Linked DNA regions of Homo sapiens: all the other regions are linked to region 1. Evidence: promoter capture Hi-C in human tissues and cell types (Jung and others, 2019). All regions are on one chromosome and are shown on one strand. The core of a region is centred on a gene start or on the middle of the fragment in contact, and the rest is flanking DNA. Distances in the headings are between cores, read along the strand shown.

Evidence for each region. The method cuts DNA at HindIII sites, captures the fragments that hold promoters and counts their contacts. A contact is called where the count stands out against the background at its distance.
Region 2: a contact is called between a fragment that was not itself captured here and the fragment with the promoter of NRG3 in region 1, in 1 of the 25 tissues and cell types used here (hippocampus).
Region 3: a contact is called between a fragment that was not itself captured here and the fragment with the promoter of NRG3 in region 1, in 1 of the 25 tissues and cell types used here (dorsolateral prefrontal cortex).

Annotation. Positions count from the first base shown.
Region 1 is chr10:81,872,841-81,877,225 of GRCh38, reverse strand. NRG3 (neuregulin 3) reads right to left here and starts at 2,032. Exons shown (of 9, transcript NM_001010848.4): 1 at 1,063-2,032. The coding sequence starts at 1,885. LOC124902549 (a long non-coding RNA gene) reads left to right here and starts at 2,708. Exons shown (of 2, transcript XR_007062377.1): 1 at 2,708-2,877; 2 at 3,725-3,854. RefSeq lists an enhancer at 321-1,083. The HindIII fragment of the contact is 10,350 bases long and covers 1-4,385 here.
Region 2 is chr10:82,923,334-82,927,718 of GRCh38, reverse strand. All of the region lies in intron 4 of NRG3 (neuregulin 3), which reads right to left. Among named protein-coding and RNA genes, the nearest start is that of NRG3-AS1, 690 kb to the right of the region's middle. The HindIII fragment of the contact is 5,311 bases long and covers 1-4,385 here.
Region 3 is chr10:82,879,581-82,883,965 of GRCh38, reverse strand. The region is part of intron 4 of NRG3 (neuregulin 3); the gene reads right to left. Among named protein-coding and RNA genes, the nearest start is that of NRG3-AS1, 650 kb to the right of the region's middle. The HindIII fragment of the contact is 3,031 bases long and covers 908-3,938 here.

The DNA of each region.
Region 1 (4,385 bases), core at 783-3,282:
TGGGAGGTCAATTAGTCACCTACAACATTTATAAAAATGTTGAGAAAATACGCACTTTCTATACAAATAAACAGAAAGCTATCATGCTTTGGGTATACTGGCTCATACTGAGCCCAGGTTGAAGATGCTACATTCTAACGGTGACATGTTTCCAAACGGTTGGATGTTCTCACCCTTGAGTGCAGAAAACTCTCAACTCGTCTATATTTTTCAGGCACAGAGGGAGAGGAGATAAGGTTCACACCCCACCTTTGGGAACGGAACAAAAGCAAAGGCTTGGCAGGGCTGAAAAAAACTCCTCCTTCGTCAGGACCCTAGAGGTGGCAGCTCTGCAGGGCTCCCTTCATATTTCCTCCTAGTTAACTCACTCTCGGCGGTCACAGAATCTATGTCTACACCTTGGAATGGCCACAGGCAGGCTAGGAGGTCAGTTTAGCCCTTTGCCTTGGATCGCCTCCTTTCCCCAAGTCTCCCAGTGGCTTCTAATTAACCCTTTCTGGTTCCTGCCCAGGTCAGGGCTGCTGGAAGCGTCCTCAGCAACATTCTACCATTATCTCCATCAACTCGTCACCCCACACAAGGACATAACTTCCTTTTGTGGTTTATCGTCGGTCAATTTGCATGTGCTTTGCTTTCTTTCCTTCCTACCGGCGGGCGGAGAAGGGGCTCAGTGCCTTCGGGAAGGCCCTCTCTCCCTCCCTGGCCCTCTACTGGAGCGGGATCCGGCAGCTCGCCAGCAGGTCTGCAGTGAGGAGGGATCGCACTCGCGTTAACCCTTTGAAGGGAGTTGGGAGATCTGTTCTCACTTGGGACCCGCTAAAGTGGGGCCAGTGGAGCCTGACAATCTCCCTCCCGTTCCTACACGCCCCCACCCCCCCAGAACCAGAGCAGGCTGGCACCTTCTTCCCCGCTGGTGGCCAGTTTTAATCAGCTCTCACTCTGCCCCAAACCTGGGATGGGGGAGGGGGCTTGCTAGAAAACAGGCGGCGAGGGAAAAAGACAGCAGGAGGGCAGAAGGGAAACTCAGTAGTAAATCATAGTTGAGACACAGTGTTTACTTACGAAATTTGGGGCTGGTGCTAGTTTCTGGTGTGGTGGTGGTAGCGGAGGAGGAAGAAGAGGAAGAAGAGGAGGCAGCATCCTGAAAGGGAGACAGGGTCCAGGAGGGAGTAGAATCGTGAAGGTAGGAGGAGGTAGCGTATGCCGCAGTAGGCCAGGAGGGCATTGCCTGGGTACTTGGAGTTCCTGGCACCGGGGGTCGGGAGCCCAGCGTGCTGCTACTGAAGAACGGGGCCGTGGTGGACGGGACCGTCGCAGGGGCCGCAGTGTTCCGTGCTGTGGTGGAGCGCGGGCTGGCCCGGATGGGCACCCGGTGCCCGGGGAAGCGAGTGGGCGCCCGCGTGATGGTGGTCAGGCGAGTGCTAATCCGGTTGGGCGTCCTGGAGGAGGCGGCACCCCCGGCGGAGGGGGTGGCGGGGGACGTGGTGGAAGTGGTAGTGGTGGTGGTCTCCATGGCCTTGGGGAAAGAGCTGGGCTTGGAGAGGAAGAAGGGGTCCTGGCCCATCCCCTTGGAGTCCACTAGGTCGGTGGGCACGTACTCCTTGACGGAGCCCACCACGATCCATTTGAGAAGCATGAGGCTGAGCCCCAGGCCGATGAAGCCGATGAACAGAGGTACCACGCACAGCCACGTCTGCTGCCGGTTCCACACGATGCAGTCGCTACAGCGTAACTCCCGGGGGGGCTCGGCCGCCCCTTCGCCGCCGCCGTCCGGGCCCCCGCCCGCCGCTGCCGCCGCCGCAGCCGCCGCGGTGCCCTCCTCGGCCGAGGCGGCGGCTGCCGAAGCGGCACCAGGTGGCGAGGCAGCGGCCGCCCCTTCACTCATCCTAGGAGCCGGTCTTCACCTTCGCCCCCCCGAGGGCCGCGGCAGAGGCATGGGGCCGCGCGGGCCGGGCGCGGGCGCGGGCGCGGGCTCCGGCGGCGGCGGCGGGCTCGGGCGCAGGCAGCGGCCGCGGCGGCCGCATGCAAATCCGCTCCCTGCCCCCACGCCCCTCCCCCCGAGAGGCGGGCGGCGGGCGGGGAGGAGAGGAGCGGGGGAGGGGACGGGGCCGGGGAGGGGGCGGTAAGGAGCTCGGAAGAGGGGCGAGACGGGCCCCCGGCGCCTCCGGTCGGTCAGAGAGCGGCGGGGCGCGTCTGCAGCCCTCCAAGCCGCCTCCTGCGCGCCGGGTCCCCGCGCCCGCTGCTGCTGCTGCTGCCCGCCGCCTGCGTGCGCTCCAGGAGCGCCGACATCCTCGGGGCACCGCGCCCAGCCCGCTCCCTGGGGCGCCCGCTCGCGCCGCGCCTGGGCCTCGCGCCGCCTTCAGTGGCCCCGGCGGCCGGTCGCGGGGTGCCGGGTGCCCGCCACCCGCATTCCGACACAGAGGGCCTGCCTGGCCGCCGCGATCTTCGGCGGCTGCTCCGCGAGCCCGGGCGGTGAGGTGCACCTGTTCTTCAGCCGGCCCGCAGCCAACCCTCGGCCAGCACTCTTCTGGAGAGACCAATCCCAGCGCAGCGCGGAGGGCTAGCGGCCCGGCTCGCCTTGCTCCAGCCGTTCGCTGCTGCGCGCCGCTGCCGCCGCCGCCGGAGAGTCAAACTCCAGCGAACAGCGCCGCTGTCGCCGCCGCGAGCCAGGGGCTGGGGGCGCACCGGGCGCCCGCGGCGGGTGCGGTCTGACCCGCCTCCGAGGGACCCAACAAGCAGGCAGAGGATCGGAAATCACGCCCCGGCGCCCTGCCCGGTTGAGCGTGGGGGACGGAAGCGGGAGACTGCGTCGGGGGTCCCGGGGAACGCAGACCCCGGGCTGAGGGCGTCTCCAGACGGGCTCTGGCTGCCAGGCTGGTGCGTGTGTGTGTGCAGAATCGCCGCGGCGGGCTGGGATTCGGGCAGAGTAGCGCCTCCCACTAGCAGCTAATGCTGGTTTCTTAATGCACACAAGATAGATAAATGATCCAAGCAAACCCCCGTTTGCGGTGGGGTGGGGGGGCAAAAGCAGCTTCCGACCGATTGTGAGTCGTCTCCTGTACGGATCCAGTGGGGTCAGAGACTGACGCTGCTGGGCGAGGGGGCGGGGGCGGATGCGGGTGGGAGGGTGCCTGTGCCCTCCCCTGCCGGATGGCGGTGCGGCTGGATGGAAGGCCACCTTTGCCTGAGTTCCTGAGAGATGCAGGTGGAGCAGAAGACCTTTGTATAATCAGACCTGTCAGATATCTCCAAGCCATTTATGTGAACTTGCCTTAAAATATTGTCTTTACCTGTAAATGTACGCACAGGTACACACGTTACAAGGCAAGTGTTTGTGAGAGGTAAATATGAAAGGATTTGGGGTTGGACTCCCAAATTCCGTTACTGCTTTCTTCCCTTGGCTGGGGAGGCACCTGTGTACCTATTTCTCCAGCGCTGTGTGGTACCTGCCGAGGCAAGGGGCAAAGAGCCAGTGTTAGCATGACATATGCCGACAGTGCAAAACCTTGCTTGCCAACTCTCCCCAGATTTCCTGGTCTAAAGTGAAAACCGAAGAGGAGGGGTTTTTATTTACAAGCGTTAAGAATATGAGGTTGAGAAAGGCAACTTTCTAATACATTCCCCCAGCACTGTCTGATTGGCGTGGATGATGGAGCCCGCATTCTCTTGTCCTGTGATAGTCTCCACAAAGATGAAGTTTTCAAGGTATCCATTTTATTCACAGGGGGAGAGCCAAACGTTACACTGAAGAGACTGCAGAGAGCAGAGGATGCATTGAAACAGGAAGCCCCTGGGGTTTGGTGCCTACCAGAGTACTTTGCACAGACAAGGTTAATAAATTATTTTTGATGGCAGTAATGCGGCTGTCACCTCTTTCAGCTATAACATTGAGACTTTCCCCATAGGAAAGCTTTTGATTTTTAGTTTGATGGAACATGCCTTAATCTAGTAGTGCTGAATTATGGTTCCAAAAATTGTAAGCAAAAAAAAAAAAACCAGAATCCTTTGAATCCAAATTCCTTTAGCTTTCCAATGTAAAGCACTGCCATCTTAAGTAAAAACTGACCCAGTATCTACCTTCTGTAGGTGCTAGGAATCTACTTCCCAGCTAGGAATCTACTTGCCCAGCCTTTCTTGTGTAGCAAATAAAAGCTTTCCTGCAAACCTCTCTGGAATTATAGCAGGTGCTACTGTCAGCTATTTGAGACAGAAAATTACTTTTCCCAAGCACTCCTAGTTCATTGCCCATCCCCACCACTGCCAGTATTCCTGTGGTCTCTCCCATTTTTTCTGCCTGGTAGAGTAAATCCAGTGTACAGAAAGGGATGCTATAATGCTGCAGCTGGGCAAATGCAGGCAAATGTTCCCTTTCCTGAAGCCACAGT
Region 2 (4,385 bases), core at 1,135-3,634, 1.1 Mb before region 1:
GGCACATATACACTGTGGAATACTATGCAGCCATATGAAAGGATGAGTTCATGTCCTTTGCAGGGACATGGATGAAGCTGGAAACCATCATTCTCAGCAAACTAATACAGGAACAGAAAACCAAACAGCACATGCTCTCACTCATAAGTGGGAGTTGAACAATGAGAACACATGGACACAGGAAGGGGAACATCACACACCAGGGCCTGTCAGGGGGTGGGGGCCAGGGGAGGGATAGCATTAGGAGAAATAATGATGACAGGTTGATAGGTGCAGCAAACCACCATAGCCCGTGTATACCTATGTAACAAACCTGCATGTTCTACACATGTATCCCAGAACTTAAAGTAAAATAAAAAAATACATTCCATAAATAAAAATTATTTTGTCAGGGGATGTATAATAAAAATTTAAATAATGTCTCAAACTAATTTTTAAGTATTTTTTTGAATTGCCACAAGAATAATGTTAGTTCCTTTATTGTGCTGGGTAAATAAAGAGACTGTCAGGCTATGGAAGCCACCACCCTTCAGCACCAGCAAGGAGACAAGGCCTCTGCGGCACCTATGATTAGAGCTCTGTGCTGGGGATTCAACTTCTAAAGCCTTGCAGTCCGTGTTGGGGGTCCCTGAGCAAGGACAGATGGGCAGTCCTTTGAGCACTTCAGGTGGAAAAGCTCTGCTCAAGTAGTGATGGTGCTGAGGAACTGAGCCAGGGAGAGCCCTTCCCAGAAAACTAAACTGGAGACCAGAAGGATAACAAAGGTCAGTTAGAATTGGGGGAATGACCCAAAGATAAAGAAAATAAAGACAAAGAGACACAGTGCAGTTGAGACATGTTCAATGGATGTCCAATCCAAAGGCAGATCTACTGAGGATTATTCACATTTCAGGAGACAAGAACTGTTTTTATTCTGCTAGAATCACACTTTAATATTGCCACAGACTCTGTGAGAGAGGCCAGGCCTCAAAGTTAGAAACTTGTTAATTTTAATTACTTATTTTGCTCTTATTGCATTAATCAATGTCCCTGAATTTTGTTTTGTTTGTTGTAATCAAATGAGCTTAACACACAGAGAATGAAATGGGAAGAAATTTCTGTCAGGAAGTAATTACCCGGCATTACAAATTGTATTCAGGACAAGATGGCTCACCCAGAGAGATATAAAGGAAAATGGAATGACTTAAGGATGTGATAGATACTTCTTGGATGCTCAAGTGACTATCACTTTTTAGAAAGTTTTTATTTATTTGGTCACCAGAATATTCCCTAAGATAATTGGAGCTTGTAGTCCTCAGCTATAAAGCTAAGTGGTGGAACTTCATCACAATATAGCACAGTTGTCCCTGGATATGCTTGGGGATTGATTCCAGGATCCCCTGTAGATACCAAACTTGAAGGCTACTAAAGTCTCTTATACAACAAGGTGTGTTATTTGCCTATAGCCTACACATATCCTCCTATATACTTTCAATCATTCCTGAATTACTTATAATACCTAATACAATGCCTACACATCACTTCATTAGCGTGGATTTGATATATTTGGCATATGGCAAATTCAAGTTTCGTTTTTTGGAACTTGGTGGAGTTTTCTTTTCCAAATATTTTCTATCCATAGTTGGTTGAATCCATGGATGCAGAACCCATGGATATGGAGGACCAACTGTACTTTGGAGCCAATACTGTGCTTGAAATGAGGTGGATAAATGGCTTTTAGCTAAACCTTTAAAACAATCTCTCCCTGAATGATCTGCCTGACTGCTCAAATCCCCTAAAATGCATGGCAGCCTGCCCTGCTTGCCTTGCCATCGCTAGTTGCATTAGCCTGGGCAGGCTGCAAAAGGGGGTGTAGGGCAAGCCTCTCTCTGGGAAAGACTAAGGCAATAGGTCATCTTTCCAGTTTAAGCTGCTAGTTCTACACACATGGAGTTGCAGATATATGTATTCTCACTGCTCTGACCAAGCAAAGAAAGAGTGACTTTTCATAATGACTCACAGGCTATAAATAACTGTACCTACCTCTCTCTGTCATCATCTATGTATAAACCCTACGTAGATTGATTAAAAAATAATAACCCTTGGCAAAGGAGTCTTCCAGTTTTTCTGCTACTGGGAATTAAGAAGACAGGAGTAGCATTAAAGCATGCTTGTCCCTATTCTGCGAGGCCATGCCTCTGTGAAAAGGCCTCACAGACAACAACAATAGCAATGACAACTACAACATGAATATTTATGGAGCACTTAAAATACAAAGCTCTTTATAGGTGCAAAGTCATTTAGTCCTTTCAACAGTGCTGGGACCATTATTAACCCCAGTTGCACTTGAGAAGATTAGGGCACAGAGAAACTAAAGTATAAGTTCAAGTTCAAGAAAAAGTAAATGGTCACAGGCAGTCTGGCTCCAGAGGCCATGCTTTCAACCACCACATGTCATTGTTGCATAGCTAGAAAAGAAACACTGTCTTCCTGTACTTCTGTAACAGAAAATCAAACCAATAGTGTTGGAGAGGGGATGTGGTAGAGTAAAAAAGGCCATCCTCCTTGGAGTCAGTTTAAAGACCAATTCTAATTTGTACTAAGTAAACTAACTTTGAGGAATTCTTTGTCTTCCCCTAGTCTCAGGGCCCTCATCTGTAAAATGGGGGTGCTTATGTCTTCTGTACAGGGTTTTCGTGGCATAAAAATATGATGGATACAAAGTTTTCAGCATTGTGTCTGGCATGTGATGAGTAATCACTCCAAAAAGTCATGCTTTTCTTCTTTCTTCCTGCTCTGGTGATCTGGAAAGTATCAAGTCTCTTTTATCCCTATAATTATAGGAGACTTTTACTCTTATGTAACATGGAAAAAGCAATTACATGGATTGGCTGAACTGCTAAACAGCCAAGAATCTTCTTTTGAAAAGCTGGGGTGTCCATGATATCAAAGAACAGCTTGTACCCATCAAAATGCAGAGGATCATTGTCATGAAGCTTACTCCTACCTTCCAAGCTGCTGTGAGTTACAGTGAAGAAGCTTGAAATATGTAAAATCTTAATTACACTACCAGGTAGCTTTGAATGCTACTGGTCTAGAAGAAGGAAGGGATATTCTATGCTGTGTCAACCTACAATCTTTAAAAGCTTTTTTTTTTTTTTAATGTGAGATATTTGATTTCAGTACATAGAAGACTTCGAAAATCAGATATGGGCAAAACCAAACAGATAATATCATTGGAATGTGTCTGATTTGCTTCCTCTTCTGCCTTATGGTAGACCCACTGAATCCCAACTTCCTACCCCTTCCTCATTACCACCGCACAAACTGATGAGCCAATTCTGATCATGGCTTGGGAATGAATTATAATGGGGTTTGTAGAGAGGCACAGGGTAGTGGAGCATTTAGGGATACTTAGGCGATTGATTCATTGAACATCAAGTCCGCATAGTAATAGTTCGGTTCTGGTCTTGGGCTCTGCCTCTGAGGTCTCAGTGACAAACTCCCAATGCTCCTTTTGGGTTCTGGAAACCTAGGTCCCTGCCTTGACATTTGTTTAGTGCTTTCTGCCTTCTAGTGGAAAGAAACTGGAATCTTGCCAACAATTTTCTCTCACCATCTCTTTCTACCTTTTTTTTTTTTTTTTTTTTTTTGAGACAGTCTCGCTATGTTGCCCAGGCTGGAGTACACTGGCATGATCTCGGCTCACTGCCTCCTGGCTTCAAGCAATTCTCGTGTCTCAGCCTCCTGAGTAGCTGGGATGACAGGTGCCTGCCACCATGCCCAGCTAATTTTTGTATTTTTTAGTAGAGATGGGGTTTCACCATGTTGGCCAGGCTGGTCTTGAACTCCTAACCTCAAGCAACCCGCCCACCTGACCTCTGTGCCCGGCCCTCTCTCTACCTTTAACAAGTGCACATATGCGTGCACACACACACACAGGTAGAAGGAGGAGGGGGGAAAGGAGAGAGATCTTAATGTTCCACGATTTTTTGTCTTTTAAGGCCTGTTTTAACCTACTTAAACAAGAAAAAAAAAGCTTTCCTAATGCTAATTGCCTGATGTTCTGGTTATACAAATATTTCCATTTCTTTCTCTCCTGTTTTTAATACATACATTTGTATATTTACCAAATCATTTATTTATTCATGCATTAATAATTCAGGTATTTACAATTATTGATTGAGCAACACTATGTTGTCAGGTATCAAGTCAGGCATTAGAGGTAACTCTAACATGAACAGACATACTTCTTGCTCTCGCAGATTTTTCCAAGCTAGTAGAGGGTGGAGACAATGTACTGAGTGCAATGTGGGAACCTATAATAAGTACATAATCCAGGCTTTGGAGACAGGATTTGGAAGGCAGGGAAAGATATTTGTAAGAGGTAATACCTCTGATGATCC
Region 3 (4,385 bases), core at 1,174-3,673, 1.0 Mb before region 1:
GGGGAAGAGGAAAAAAAAAAAAACTATAGCAAAATATTTACAAAGCTATCTCCTGGAGAGAGACACAACTCTGGTGTGAAAAAAAATGACAGAAAAGATGAATCAGGATACTTTGGATCATTTACTGCATATGAGCTACTCTGGAAGTATGACATGCATTCTCTCAACTAAGTTTCAAAATACCATGGGACATAGGTTTTAACTTCTGAAGAGTTAATGACAAACCGAAGCTTTTCTGAAAATAGTGCACAGGAAAAGAAAGAGTTGAAAATAATATCATAATAAGTATGACTAAGGAGATAAGACTTAGAGAGAAGCCAAGATAATTATCTTGAAGGACTAGAGAGACTATGAGGTGAAGGAGCAGATTAGAGAACAAATATAAGTTGACTAGGGAAATTCTTTTCAACAATTACAAGAGTTGTTAGAATATACACTGTACTATTATTAGCCCTGTCTTACAGACAAGAATACTGAGACTCAGGAAAATTAATGTACCCAAATTCTAGTAATTAAAAGAGCAAAGATTAAATTCCAGGAATCTATGACTTCATGACATTGTGCTATACAGACAGACAGATTTCAACTCTATATACAGACTGATCAGCTAAAAGGGACAGGTTCAACTTGCTGATCTCCGAGGCTTCTTCTAAATGTATAATTAATAATAATATATCATTTATTCACAGAAATAAGAATTTGATTGGGCAATTGTTGCAAAAAAAGACCTGTAAATACATAGTGTTTGATTTTAATAACAAAAACATGACTTTTTATGACAATATAATTTTCCAAGAAAAAAAGGCATGCCTTCTTATATAGCACATTCCGCATACATCAACATATTATGTAACTACATTTGAAACGATGTCTTCTACACATTGAGAGCATCATAAACTTATAAAAGTAAATATTTTTAGAGAAAGGGTATGCTTGTTTTCTTCCAAATAGATTATTTTGTTTTATGCTAACCACATTCCTGTGAGAGAGGTATGAATATTTTACAGGTGAATAATAGTCTTAATCACCCACACAGAGGTATCCACTGGCAGCTAATGTAATCATTGGTTTGTCAGGTATTTAAACCTGAGCTTTTCCTGGGGTCCTAGTTGTTGGTAGTAACTGTTACCCACCTTAAACAGGCAGTATTGAGAAGATAACACAAAAGAATGTGTGACACAGGCCTTTGTGGCATATGGAAGTCCTACACAAACTAGCCAAAGGCTCTGGGAAACTGTGTGGTAGACAATCTCTAAGATGCCCTCAAGGACCCCATCTCCTTATAATGTGAGATTGACCCACTAACTCCTGACAAATAAGATATGGCAAAAGTGGTGTGATATCACTTTTGAGACCTAAACAAGGAACTTACAACATTTGCCTTATTTGGTGACATTATTGCTATGGACCAGCGATTCTTCCACTGGACAGTGCCTTCCATTCCCTCCACCATCCTTTTTGAGCAGAAATGTCTATAATGTTGTTTGCTTGTCTGCCATTGCATGTTAGGTGTATGTGGGACAGATAATTGTCTCTTTAGTTAACACATCTACCGTCAAGAAAACTCTACTCATGTTGCCAAAGCTTAAGGAACTACATGTGAAGAGCCTCATCTTCACCTGGATTTGATTTAGACAATGGGATTTGAAATTCCAGCTGAGACTGGAATGAGATAATGTCGTTTGTGTCTTTCACAATATTTTGGGGTAAGACAGACATAAACCATGGTGACACCATAATCTAGCAAAGTTACAGTAGAACACATAAGCGCCTTATACACTAAGAATGCAGATCTGCATGAACGATGTATTAGGAAAGGGTGGTAAGTCTTAAGTGTCATGGCACATAGAAATCACATGCAGAAAAGACGGGCATGGACAATCACGGCGTGTTAAAAGAAGAGAACGTGCTTCTGAATGGTTGAGAAAGGCATGAGTAGATGAGATGAGGTTAGCCAGGTGGTGTGGCAAGATGCAACTAAAATTCTATAGTATTTGGCACTGTTCCAGGGGCAAAAACGAGGAAGACTCCTAAAGCACACAGCTCTGTCCTTGAGGGTTTCTGGACACACAGGCATACTCAGTAAACCAGGAAAACACAGTGTAGCACATTAGGAAATGAAGAAAGGAAAAACATAGTTTGAATGCCTGTATGTCAAGAAATGCATATGTGGGGTGTTACATCATCAATCTTTATATTAATGAACCATCAGCGGTGGACATTGATATAGATAGATACATACACACATACATAAATACATAGATATATAGCTAGGCAGATAGCCCATGTCTCACAGCATATAGGAGATGAAGTCAAAATTTGATAAATGTCCACCTGGCTTCAGTGTGTGTGTGTGTTTATTACAGTGCTTGAATCCCATAGCATGCCTTTTTCTCACAGAAATAGAAAAGCAGAATCATTGAATCACTTCTATGATACAGTACAACTCTAGAAGATAGACATCTTGATTATTTTCTGGTAGGAACAAAAGGCCCCATATTCTCATACAAGCATGTTTGTGACTGAAGTTAGCAGTCTGAATGTAATGAGAAAATGAATGGGTAGTGAACAGATAAAGACACAGCTGTTATTACTTCATTAATATAGCCTTGAACTGCATCTTTTGGTAAGTTAAATGCTACTTTCTTCCTCAAAAACTCATTAACTAAGTTAGCATGCTGCTATTTGTTTTTTGAAGCATCCATATCTGAAGTGTTAATCTATTTCACTCACAATAGGAACTTGGCTTTAAAATAGTTCATCAGTTGCTCTGACAGCAGGATCCATCCTGCCCAGAACCAATGAGCTTGCAGGTTGTGTTTGCCTTGTTAAACAACCATAGTTGCTGAGGTAATTTGGGAACAGTTTAGTATTTTGTGCATAATTCTCATCGTGTAACAAGCAGAGCTGTCCCTTGGGACACAAAGCACACTCTTATTCCAACCCCTTTTGCTAAGTTTCCTCATTAATTCTGCTTATCTTCCTGCACTGCTCATATTAACTCTAATTCAGCCTTCCTGGGAACTGGAGTGTGAGATAGAAGTGGGTCACTGGGGAGCCACTCCTTACTGTGCTCATGGCCCTACAGCAGGGGTTGCCAGATAAAATACTCAAAAATGGCTTTACAAGTAAACAACAAATACGATGTTTATAGATACACCTCATGCAATACACAAAACATATCTAGCCTAAAAAAGTATTTGTTACATCTCTGAAATTTAAATTTATGTGGGTGTCCTGCATTTTTATTGACTAAATCTGGCCAGCCTACCCATGATATACCTTCTACAGCTGAGGGCCTAGTTGAGTGTAGTTATGGCCCTGGCCCAGTGTGCTTGGAGCCCAGCACAAAGTAGGATATCATCATATTTGGAGAAAACACACCATTTTATATTATGCTCCTAGGGAAGGATTATGGGAATAGTTCAAGCTTTAGAGACATTTTGATCTGGATTATTATTCATCTTTACTATTTATCAGTTGGGCATATTACTTTTACTTTCATCAGCCTTATTTCTTCACATATATAGTGGAAAAAAATTCCCTTAAGAGGCTTTTTTAAAAGACTAACTTTCTGTGCCCTGAAGCTCTATGTCTTTCTCTTCCACGAATGGCAGTCTCACTCGTGCGCACTCTAAATATGGACAGCTTTCTTGAATACATACTAGGTAGCTCCCCAAATCTGGTATTCCCAAGGATACTAAAATGAAGACAGGAGCAGTTTTCCCCAAACCAAAGATTAGGTCACTCAGGTTATGGCGATTTCATACATCACATATTTAAGATCCCTGGTAACTTCAAAAGACAAAATGTGATAACTCCTGTGAAGTCACCTACCATGCCCATAACTTATATAATAGTGAACATTCATTCTCTTTCCTCTATGCCTCCTAACTGGTGAGTGCTTGAAAGCTTCATCAATAAACGGAGCCCATATTCAATATACTTTCAATACAGCACAAGCTTCTGCTTCAATTCTCATGCAAAAAAAAAAAAAAAAAAAAAAAGGGATGAAATCCTTCTTAGAAGAGTGAATGCAACATGAAGACAGGCGACCTCACTGGATAAGCAAATTTACTTGACTTCCCTAAGCTGTGTTCCAATCCTGTTGGAAACATTAATATTTAACACCTTTAACCCTCAGTACTACTAAGTGAACTGGAAACTTCAACTTTAAAAAGTCTTCATTAGGCCGGGCATGGTGGCTTATACCTGTAATCCCAGCACTTTGGGAGGCCGAGGAGGGCGGATCATGAGGTCAGGAGATCGAGACCATCCTGGCTAACACGGTGAAACCCCCATCTCTACTAAAAAATACGAAAAAAATTAGCCGGGTGTGGTGGCGGGCGCCTGTAGTCCCACCTACTCCAGAGGCTGAGGCAGGA